Regions from separate parts of the Homo sapiens genome. Here regions 2 and 3 are each linked to region 1. The links are contacts of gene promoters, found by promoter capture Hi-C in blood cells and fetal thymus (Javierre and others, 2016). All regions are on one chromosome and are shown on one strand. Each heading gives the region's core, a stretch centred on a gene start or on the middle of the fragment in contact. The rest is flanking DNA. Distances are from core to core; before and after follow the strand shown. Region 1 holds the start of FAM78A (family with sequence similarity 78 member A). Region 2 overlaps NUP214 (nucleoporin 214). Region 3 overlaps NUP214 (nucleoporin 214).

Region 1 (3,691 bases), core at 428-2,927:
CTCCCCGAGCAGCTGCAGAGACAGGGAGCGAGGGGGAGCGAGGGATTACCAGGGGGAGGGCGGGCTGTGTGCGGGGAGCGAGGGTGGAGAGCCAGGCGGGCGGGGAGGAGGAGGCGGCGCCCGCCCGCCGCCGCCGCCGCCGCCTGCGGACCTGCATCCCCGCGGGGCCGGCGAGCGGGCGGCGGTCCCTGCGTGCGCCGGCTGCGCTCGGCCGGCGGCGGCGGCGAGCGGACGCGGGGGCCGGGCCGGCGCAGGGGCCGAGTTTCTGCAAAGTTTGACCCGGTTGCCTTTCCGATGCTGCAGCAGAGCGAGGCAGCGCGGGGCGCGCCAGGCGGCAGCGGCGCGGCGGCGGGGCTGAGCGGCGACAGCGCGCTCACAATGATCATAAAATAAAGGAGGCGCGCGGGGTGGGGGCGAGAGAGCCCCGAGCCTCAGCCCTCCGCCCCCGGCCGCCCCCCCGAAGCCCCAAGCCGGGAGGAGGGTGGGGGCCGGGGGCGCCCACGCCGGCCCCAGACTCCAGTAGAGCCAAGGGACAGTGCCCGGGGAAGGGGGTGGGGGCGCCCCAAGAACGTGCCCGCGGCCGGGTCAGGGGCGTCCGGAGAGCGGCTGCCCGGGCCAGCGGAGTGGCCCCCGGGGCAGGTGAGTCGGCGGCGCCGCCCGAGTGGGGGCGTGCGCGCCAAAGTTCCCCGGCAGCGGCGAGCGCGCCCGACGCGTGGGGACCCGGGGCTGCTCGCGGCTGGAGAGGGGCGACAGAGGCGCTTGACGCGGCGGAGCGGGGGCACTATGCCCTCCGAGGGCCGAGGGACCCCAGCCGGGAAAGGGGTGCCCGCCGGATCCGACGGCACTGGTGGGTGGCCCTGCGCCCAGGGAGCCGGAGGGACCGGGGTGGGGAAGGGGCACCTGGCGCTGGCGGCGCGGCGGTGGGGACAGAGCAGGGCAAGTGCTCGCCGCCCCCTGCAGCGGCAGCCGCTCGCCCCCCACCCCGCCCGTCCGGGACGGTATCAGCGGAGATGTCACGGGCGGCTATTATTCGCTGGTGCGCGCGGTCGTGCGGCCGCCACTGACGGGGCGGGCGCGGGGGGCGGGGGCCACCGCCTCCGGGGAGACCGCCCAGAGCTGCGCCGTCAGCTCCGCAGCCCGCGCCCAGCGCACACGCGTCGCCGCCCCCGCGCGCCCCCCGCAGCAAAGTTCGGCTTAACTTTGAGGCTGGCCTTGACGCGCTGTCCCTTCCACCTCCCACCAGGTCCTCGGCGGCCGCGGCGAAGCAGGCGGCGGCGGCCGGAGCGCAGCCCCGGGACCCTGCACGGCGGCCGGCAGCGACAGCGGCGAAGGGACGCGGCGCCCCTGCGTGGGGACGTCCGGCCCGCGCCCGCGAGTGGGCGCCGACGGGGACCCGCGCCGCGCTCCCCCGTCACCGGCGAGCGGCCGGAGCCCTGAGCTCGCCTCCTGGAAGCCGCGGGTCGGCGCTCGCCCCGAGGGCGCCGGGACCTCGGCCGGGTGAACACAAACTGCTCTGCAATTGATTCGACCGCGCCGGGCGGGTGCGGGTGCGGGGCCCGGAGGGAGCGCGTGCGGAAGGCCGGAGGGCAGGAAGTCAGGCTTCTGCCGCGAGGGTGGCGCGGCCGCGCGGGGACAGAGCCTTCCTTATTTATGAGTCTGCCGGCGCTCGCCTGCTTCCTCCGAAGACTTCAGGGAGAGTCTGCGAGCTGCCGTCCCCGCGTGTGAGGCACAGAAGGGCTGGATGTCAGAACCGCATAATTATTCATTAAACTACAAACTTTTTTTAACCCAAAGAATATCGGTGATTTTTGTCCACTGCGAGGAGAAGAAGAGAGAGCCCAGGGCTCATGAAATGCAGCAGAATCCTTATTTATAAACAGGCCGCGGTAGTGATATATGCAACCCCAGTCTACTCAGTGAGTTTTCTATCCTATGGATATCGGTCTTGAGAGTTGAGATTGGAGAGCAGCGCCGTCTGTACTGGGTCCTGCAGCCTCTGTCCTTTCAATGCCTGGTTTTTTCTGTGACTGCTGGCCTTCCCTGGAGATCAGAGCGCTCCTGTATGCCATGGGCTGTATTCAGAGCATCGGAGGCAAAGCCAGAGTCTTCCGGGAAGGGATCACGGTGATTGATGTGAAAGCCTCCATCGACCCCGTCCCCACTAGCATCGATGAGTCCTCCAGCGTGGTGCTCCGCTACCGGACACCCCACTTCCGGGCCTCGGCCCAGGTGGTCATGCCGCCCATCCCCAAGAAGGAGACTTGGGTAGTTGGCTGGATCCAGGCGTGCAGCCACATGGAGTTCTACAACCAGTACGGCGAGCAGGGCATGTGAGTACGGCCGAGAGCCAGCTCTGGGAACTGCTAGGGATGGCCGAGCTTGGAGGCCTGGTGGGGGGCCGCGGATAGGGGGAAGGTGGAGATACCATGAAGACAGGACGGAGGCCAGAGGGAAGCTTTAGGCAGGTATGCAGGTGGCCTCATTGGCCCGGTGGCTCCCTGAAAAGTTTGCCTGTGGATCCAGATTGGAGTCACGGTCCTGCAATCTACCCTGCCACTGTTCCCCCCGGGTTCCTGTGTCCTTCCCTGCAAGATGCCGAGAAAGCAGAGAGACATTACTCCCAGTGTTTCCTGGCAGAGCAAGTGTGCCGTCCGCCTGAGGAGTGTCTGTGCCATCAGGGGTCACCAGAGAGGCTGCAGGGCTGCCCTCCAGGCCTCTGGCCCTGTGCGGGCCCATGGCAGACATTCAGGCACTCTGCAACTCCCAGACCGGTGTGTTCAGGGCTTTGCGATTGGGCCTCAATTATCTTTCTGGCTTTTACCAGTGTATGCCAGGAGCTGGGGGAGTGCTTCCCCGTTCCAAACGGCACTGTGTTTGAGAGCACAGTTAGTTTTAGAAGCCCGATTTCTTCACAGTGTATCGCTTTCTGTCTCCAAGGCAGAAGACCGCTTTATGCAGACAAGTCCAGTGTCCCTCTGGCGAGGCCCTAACAGGAACAGCAAAGAGGAGCCTCTCCTCTGCAGCCCCAAAGCCCGGTCTCCAGAGTGTGCCTAGGGTATTGGGGGTCCCGGTGAGGACCCTGGGACCCTGGGGCTCCTTTCCTGGCCTGCTTCCTGACCCCAGAGAAGGCCGTCCCCAGGGTGAAAAGAGCTGCATTTAGGCAGAGTTGGGAGAGTGACTTAATCTGAAGGTTCACCCTAAGACAGGGATGGTGAAAATAGCTGTTTCTGAGCGTAAGGACCCTTTGGAGAGAGCTAGGCAGGCCCCGGCGGGCAGCCCACCCATGCGGCCCCGTGACTGGCCGCTGACACTCCCAGAACCTCTCTCAGTGTCTACCCTGTGGCCCCGTGACTGGCCGCTGACACTCCCAGAGCCTCTCTCAGTGTCTACCCTGTGCAGCTTCACGTCCCCGTTTTGCAAGTGGGGAAAAGAGGAGAATTTCCCCAGGAGCTGGAACTTATCACAGATTTAAGAATCTCATGGGCCACCTGTAAATGAGAGGGGTGGAGGATGGCGGGACACCAAGTCTGGTGGCTTCTCTACTTAATGACTCCAAAGTTCTAAAGGAAACATGAGGATCACAGTAACCCTTAAGTCCAGCGTGTGACAGTGACTGTCCCAAAGAGGTACATGGGGGGCACATCTAGAGGCTCTCACCGGCCCTCTCCACCAGCCTGATTTCTGTGCCAAC
Region 2 (3,691 bases), core at 777-3,276, 110 kb after region 1:
AGCCTGGGCAACAGAGTGAGACTCCTTCTCAAATAACAACAAGAAAAACCCAAAAGAGAAAATAGAATTGAATTGAACTGAATCCCGGCCTTCTGTTTAGACTACGAAGAGTAAGGCTTTATGTCATGTTAACTTTCTATCATAAATTTCAGAATGCAAGTGAATACTTCCTGTATATTGGAAAAAACAAAAACCAAACAAAATAATCTAGCCCTTTTTCTTCCCTCCCCAAGTTATTTAAAATGGCTCTGCAAATATTTATTGACTTTTGTGTCCCATGTGCACATGGCTCTGCAAGATTTTATTGTCATAATGTAAGTATAACATAAACAAATGCCACTAAAAACCAATGCTATGTGCTACGGCTGTCTTAGCCAATTTGGTAGCCAGTAGCCATATGTGGTTATTTAAATTTAAAGTAATCAAAAGCAAATTAATGAAAAATCAATTCCTCGATTGCACTATCCACATTTCATGTCCTCTACAGCCACATGTGGCTAGTAGCTACCCTGTTGGACAACAAAGATACAGAACATTTCCATCATCACAGAAAATCTTCCTGTGAGACAGCAAAAGAAACTACCATCAGAGTGAACAGGCAACCTACAAAATGGGAGAAAATTTTCACAACCTACTCATCTGACAAAGGGCTAATATCCAGAATCTACAATGAACTCAAACAAATTTACAAGGAAAAAACAAACAACCCCATCCAAAAGTGGGTGAAGGACATGAACAGACACTTCTCAAAAGAAGACATTTATGCAGCCAAAAAACACATGACAAAATGCTCACCATCACTGGCCATCAGAGAAATGCAAATCAAAACCACAATGAGATACCATCTCACGCCAGTTAGAATGGCAATCATTAAAAAGTCAGGAAACAACAGGTGCTGGAGAGGATGTGGAGAAATAGGAACACTTTTACACTGTTGGTGGGACTGTAAACTAGTTCAACCATTGTGGAAGTCAGTGTGGCGATTCCTCAGGGATCTAGAACTAGAAATACCATTTGACCCAGCCATCCCATTACTGGGTATATACCCAAAGGACTATAAATCATGCTGCTATAAAGACACATGCATACGTATGTTTATTGCGGCACTATTCACAATAGCAAAGACTTGGAACCAACCCAAATGTCCAACAATGATAGACTGGTTTAAGAAAATGTGGCACATATACATCATGGAATACTATGCAGCCATAAAAAATGATGAGTTCATGTCCTTTGTAGGGACATGGATGAAATTGGAAATCATCATTCTCAGTAAAATATTGCAAGGACAAAAAACCAAACACCGCATGTTCTCACTCACAGGTGGGAATTGAACAATGAGAACACATGGACACAGGAAGGGGAATATCACACTCTGGGGACTGTTGTGGGGTGCGGGGAGGAGGGAGGGATAGCATTAGGAGATATACCTAAGGCTAAATGAAAAGTTAATGGGTGCAGCACACCAGCATGGCACATGTATACATATGTAACTAACCTGCACATTGTGCACATGTACCCTAAAACTTAAAGTATAACAAAAAAAAAAAAAAAAAAGAAAATCTTCCTGTGAGATAACAACTAGGTACTGTTTTAAGCCGCTAGGTTTGTGATAATTTGTTACGGCATCCATAGGAAACTAATACAAACCCATGTTTTCTTGGGGCCAAATTTCTCTCCATAATTTCTCCAAAATCCTATTGTAGTTCCTGATAGTAACAATAAAAGATGACTCAAATAATCACATCACCTTCAAGAACTAGACAGAAAGAGACACTGGAATAACTATGTAACCTCCAAGGTCCTATGTAACATGAAGGTACTCTTAGTTCCTTCCTTCACCTTTCTGAGGCAATTTACCTGCCTTCGGTGGAGGAACCCCATCAACTGAAAGATGCAATGGGCATGCTCACTCACAGAAGCATGGGGCATGGACTGCTCACTATGCCAATGGTGCTGCCTCCACCATTAATGGGTGCTGCTCTCTGCTGTGATCAAGGATGCAGCTAACTGCCTGGCATTAGAAAGAGCGTCCCACTGAAATTTAAAGAATCTTATTCTGTTTACACTCTACGTCAGATAAGGAAAGGTAGAAAGCTACATGACTGAGGGCAGGGAGGGTGGGGAGACAAAAGGATAGAAAGTCATATGATCATCTCAGTAGATGCAGCAAACCTCACATCTTAGGATGAACTATAGAAAGTGCTCCTTTTGAGATCAAGGAGAGCTACACGACACTTTTACGCTGCACTGGAGGTTCTAGCCAGTGAAGTAAGGTAAAATAATAATAATAATAATAATGATAATAATAATAACAAAAGGACTGGAAAGGCAGAAACGTCACCATTAGTATCCATGGAGGATTTCATTGTTTCCATAGTTACAAGGCCAAGAAACAGCTACAGACGTGTTAGAATAAATGAATTCTGCCAGGTTGTTGGCTGTAAGTAAATACACATAAATCAATGGTATTTCTCGATACTACATCCAACATAAACCATAAAATTTAAGGAAAAAAAATCTACCATTATAAGAGCAACAAATTTTTGCAATTAAATTTTTAGCAATTAATCTAACAAAAGATGTGCATGTCTCCCACGCAGAAAACATTAAGAGAAATTAAAGAACACCCAAATATACAAATATGTACCCAGTTCAGGAACTGAGAGTTCACTACTGCACAAATGTCAATTCTCAAGTTGATCTAGAGACTCAATACAATTCCAATCAAAATCTCAACTTTCCTTTGAAGGCTGAGGAAGGCAAAATTCCTCCCCCAAAACTTTCTTTTTTTAAAGACGGAGTTTCGCTCTTGTTGCCCAAGCTGGAGTGCAACGGCATGATCTCGGCTCACTGCGACCTCTGCCTCCCGGGTTCAAGCGATTCTCCTGCCTCCCTTCTTTTTTATTTATTTATTTTTTTATTGTGGTAAAATATACATGACATAAAATGCACCATAGTCACATTTTAAAGTGTACAGTTCCATGGCATAAATACATTCCTAATGTTGTATAACCGTGACTACCATCTATCTCCAGAACGTTTTCATCTTCCCGAACTGAAACTTCATCCCCATGAAACACTAACTCCCCATTTTCCCTCCTCCAGCTTCCGGCAGCCACCATTCTAGTTCTGTCTCTATAGTTTTGACTACTCTAGGTACAGGGAGGTAGAATTTAACAAGACAATTTTAAGGTTAATATGAAAATGTAAAACACCAAGAAAGGCAAAACATTCTAGAGCAGGAGTCAGAAAACTACAACCATAGACCAGCTGTCTCTTTGCAGAAATATAAAGTTTTGCTGAAACACAGACATGCCCCTCTCATCACATGGTCTGTGGCTGCTTTCCCATTACAACAGCAGAGTTAGGTAGGTGCAATGGAAACCACAGCACCTGCAAACCTCAACTATTCTCCAGCTGGCCCCTTACAGAAAAATCTGCCAACCCCTACTCTGAATTGTAGAACTTTCTGCAATGATGAAATGTTCTTTATACGTGTTTGCCATTACAGTAGCCATTAGTCACATGTGCCTACTGAGCACTTGAAATGTGGCTACTGGGATTGCAAAACTAAATTTTAAATGTTACTTATTTTTCTTTTTAAAATTTATATATTTATCTGAGACAGGGTCTCACCACTCCTTTCCCAGGCTGGCCTCGAACTCTTGGGCTCAAGTGATCCTCCTGC
Region 3 (3,691 bases), core at 426-2,925, 87 kb after region 1:
CACCACCATGCCCGGCTAATTTTTGTATTTTTTTTTAGTAGAGACAGGGTTTCATCACGTTGGCCAGGCTGGTCTCGAATTCCTGACTTCAGGTGATCCGCCTGCCTTGGCCTCCCAAAGTGCTAGGATTACAGACATGAGCCACCAGGCCTGGCCTTGCTCCACTTCAAAAGGGGGAAAGGAAAGAGGAAAACTATTTAAAAGCCCAAATCAAACGAAACTAAACCAAACAACAACAAGAAAAAAAAAACACCAACCTTCTAAAATAAACAAACACAGGGTAGATGGCAGTACAAATATTTTTAAAACTACTGATATACAATGTAAAATGTACAGGATGAAAAGTCACAATCTAAATCATCAGCAGAGTACTAGTTAAATTTAACAGGGTATAACTACACAATGAGGTTGTAGACAGCTCTTAAAATGAGTAAGGTGGATCTGTATCAGACCTGCAGAGACCAAGACATTTATTGTAAGAGGGGGCAGAGAAGGGGAAATAAGTTACAAAATCAATATATATAGGATATACAGTATATAGGATATTTTTCTTTAAAAAACAATGAAGTAACCTCAAGAGATATACATGAAATCATGATCTCTGGAATACAGAATCTATAGGGCAGCTTTCACATTCTACATTATATATCTCTACACCATAGGCTTTTTCTGGGCATGTAATAGTTTTACAATCAGAAAAACAATGAAGGTATTTCCATTACTAATAAGAGAACTATTCTCTAGAGGTTTTAGAAATGCTCTTTTTCAAAAAGAAACTTTTTGCAAACTCTTAAGCAGCACCTTTCAGGGAAGTTTTCCTACCAAAAGAAAAAAGTTCTTTTCTAAACCTTGATTACCTGGCAAGTGAAAACAGAAGTGAACACCTCGTAACAAAAGAGAGGATTTCATGATCAGCAATGAATGGTGAATCTCGGAAATTTCTTGCAAGTCACACTACTTGCCCAGACATGCATAAAGCAAAGTTCCTTAGGTTTCTTTGATTCTAACTCCAAGAGTGACAAAAACCTCTCCAATGAAGTCCTTGAAAAAAGAGTATATGATCTTTCAAAACCTTTTTGTAAAATACTCAAGTCTTTGACAGTTCTACTATATAATTTTCCTTTTAACATAAAGCTTTAGGCCCCGGTCGAGAAGTGCTAGATACCTCCTTCTCATGTGAGGCGTACATGATACCAACTGTGGTTCCATATCACTCCGAATTCTAGAATACAACTCTGGCTTATGCAATAATGGCTTCCTTCTGCAAGGAATAGCTACTAAAGATAAATCCAGTATCCAATCAGAAAGTTTGGGATTACAGAGAAAGTCAGAATGACTGTATGATTAAGATTATGAGACGCAGGCTGCTAATGTATGAAGTTCAATTTCTAACAGAATTTGCTTGAAGGCCCACTTAAGAGCATGATTGAAACAAATGCCAGAATCAACAGTGTTGTAAAAATTCAGTATTGCAGACAGCACAAGACCCTTGCAGCAGGAAGTAATACACGCCAAATTAGGTAGGCTATAATAAAGGAGCCAACAAAAGGGGACACTGAGGAAGACCCACATTCTGCATAAAGTTGGTTTGGGCAATGACACTTGGACAAAGTGTCTGGTCAAAACACTCATGGTTACTGTGAAAACTAAATTAAGAATAATTATGCTTGAGTGAGTGTAGGAGAAGTTACGTGAAGCCATAAAATCTCATAATATCGACTCATTATATACTCTGAGATCTTACAAATCTGTTTCACTTTCTCTACCTTATAGGCTTTTGAACTGTCACTGTGGACCAACAGAATTTTTAATTCCTTTTAGTGGAAGAAATAGCGTTTAGCATTCTGATCCATTCCTCTCAACTGTGATCATCCAGCAAGGAAGAAAAAGATAATACTATTGCTCCATTTTAGGAAAAGAATTTAAAGGGAGGTTTTTCTCCTATTGCTCTATCATTTTCAAACTAACCTAAAAATTTCAGAAGTCTACATAGCCATTGAAGGGCATACTAATTTTCTAGAAATTCTTCATTAGCTGACGGCTTTCAAATATGATCTCTTGTCTATGGTCATACTACCCTGAATGCTCCCGATCTCATCAAATGTGACTCCTGTTTCCTATGGCAACTGTCTCAGTGATCCAGAACAATAACCCCTATTGTGGAGTGCTTCTTTCACTTTTCAAGAAAACAAAAATGCAAACTGACCTGAAGCTTTGTCACCAGATGATAACTGACCGGATGCTGGTGTAGGCCCAGATGGCTTAAGGGAATTTATTAGAGACCCCTATAACAGAATGCAAGCAAAATGTTTATGTTAAACCACTAACCATTCTTTGTAACAAAGAAATATGTAAAATGTAAACACAAAAATATAATTTAAAATAAGCAAGGACAAATACTTTTAGATAAATTACCAAAAAGAAAAAGGAAACAAAAAAAAGGTCTCAATTTAAGTTAACCATATGTAAGATCATATTAAAGGATGAAAATAGAAATACTCTGCAAGCTCCAAGAAGGCAGTCACACTGGCCTAGTTCATGGCTATCTTCCCAGTGCCTAGCACAGTGCTTAGCACATCAAAAGCACTTGACTATTAGGTAGATGAATTAATGAAGGAGTAAATTAATAAAATGGTTCTAGCTCTCAAAGCATGTACAATAAGGTTAAAAGCAAAACTGACTTATCCATCTCCAGTCAATGTTCCTTCACTCGCCATGACTTATGCCTTATCATGTGTTTTCCATGGTGAACACAAATACCTCCAGAAGAAAGATCGAATGCTAAATGCTTAAATGCCATTTTAAGTTATGGTAAACTAAGGAACAGAGGCAAGTTTGAGAACTTAAATAGGCAAGTCCTGATATCCAGTCTCAAATTCTGATCTCTAACACAAACTACTCATCTCAGAGACAGATGTAAGAGTAGTGAGAGAAACCAGAACTTCTTAGGAAGAGTTTCAGCACTAGCCTGACTGACCTTCCAACCATCCCCTATCACTTTTTTCTGGATTGTTTAACTGTTTGCAATATCACCTATTTTTCTAAGGGACAATGTTTATCAGGCAAAAGCCTGAAGCTAGACAAGCTAGACATAACATCACTAAAAATATGCAAACTCTGACAAACAGGGATTGCAGGAGAAAACCAGATAACCTATACCCCAGACATTGATACTCAACTGTGTAGTGAAACGAGCAATGGACAGGAGGAAGTCAGAAGCCTTGGGTCCCAGCTCTGGTTCCACCATTTACTAATCGTGAGAGTTTGCGTTGGTCACTCAAGCCTAGGCTGCCTCACCAGTGAGACATATCTAAACACCTATCCTCCCACTGTACACGGCTGTTGTATGGGTTAACTGAGATAATGTGAAAGTAAACTGCAAAGCAAAATACTTCATATAAAAATGTATGGTATTAGAATTATGACCCCAAATTACTAGGTGCAGAATGTTTAAATGGCCTATGAAGACAGTATCAGGTCCTGACTGACCTACCCTGATTAACAGCCATGTCAAGACTGGCATAAATTGTGGGGAAGGGATTATGGGCCTTTATCAGACTTATGGTTCATTTAAACAAAGTCAAGACTTAAAAACAGTATGGTCTTCACTTACAAAGACAGACACGGCATGAATGTTAAAAGTAAAACTCAGGCCGGGTACGGTGGCTCACACCTGTAATCCCAGCACTTT

The links. The method cuts DNA at HindIII sites, captures the fragments that hold promoters and counts their contacts. A CHiCAGO score of 5 or more calls a contact.
Region 2: a contact is called between a fragment that was not itself captured here and the fragment with the promoter of FAM78A in region 1, in 3 of 17 cell types (megakaryocytes, erythroblasts and total CD8 T cells). The highest score is 9.9, in megakaryocytes.
Region 3: a contact is called between a fragment that was not itself captured here and the fragment with the promoter of FAM78A in region 1, in 9 of 17 cell types (megakaryocytes, naive CD4 T cells, total CD8 T cells and 6 more). The highest score is 8.6, in megakaryocytes.

The regions. Positions count from the first base shown.
Region 1 is chr9:131,274,496-131,278,186 of GRCh38, reverse strand. FAM78A (family with sequence similarity 78 member A) reads left to right here and starts at 1,677. Exons shown (of 2, transcript NM_033387.4): 1 at 1,677-2,330. The coding sequence starts at 2,008. RefSeq lists a silencer at 328-1,507 and enhancers at 2,148-2,647, 2,808-2,857, 2,888-2,937, 2,350-2,962, 2,948-2,997 and 2 more. The HindIII fragment of the contact is 5,571 bases long and covers 1-2,457 here.
Region 2 is chr9:131,169,414-131,173,104 of GRCh38, reverse strand. All of the region lies in intron 21 of NUP214 (nucleoporin 214), which reads right to left. Among named protein-coding and RNA genes, the nearest start is that of NUP214, 46 kb to the right of the region's middle. The HindIII fragment of the contact is 5,166 bases long and covers 1-3,691 here.
Region 3 is chr9:131,187,647-131,191,337 of GRCh38, reverse strand. It overlaps NUP214 (nucleoporin 214), which reads right to left. Exons shown (of 36, transcript NM_005085.4): 26 at 2,207-2,285. Among named protein-coding and RNA genes, the nearest start is that of NUP214, 64 kb to the right of the region's middle. The HindIII fragment of the contact is 1,078 bases long and covers 1,137-2,214 here.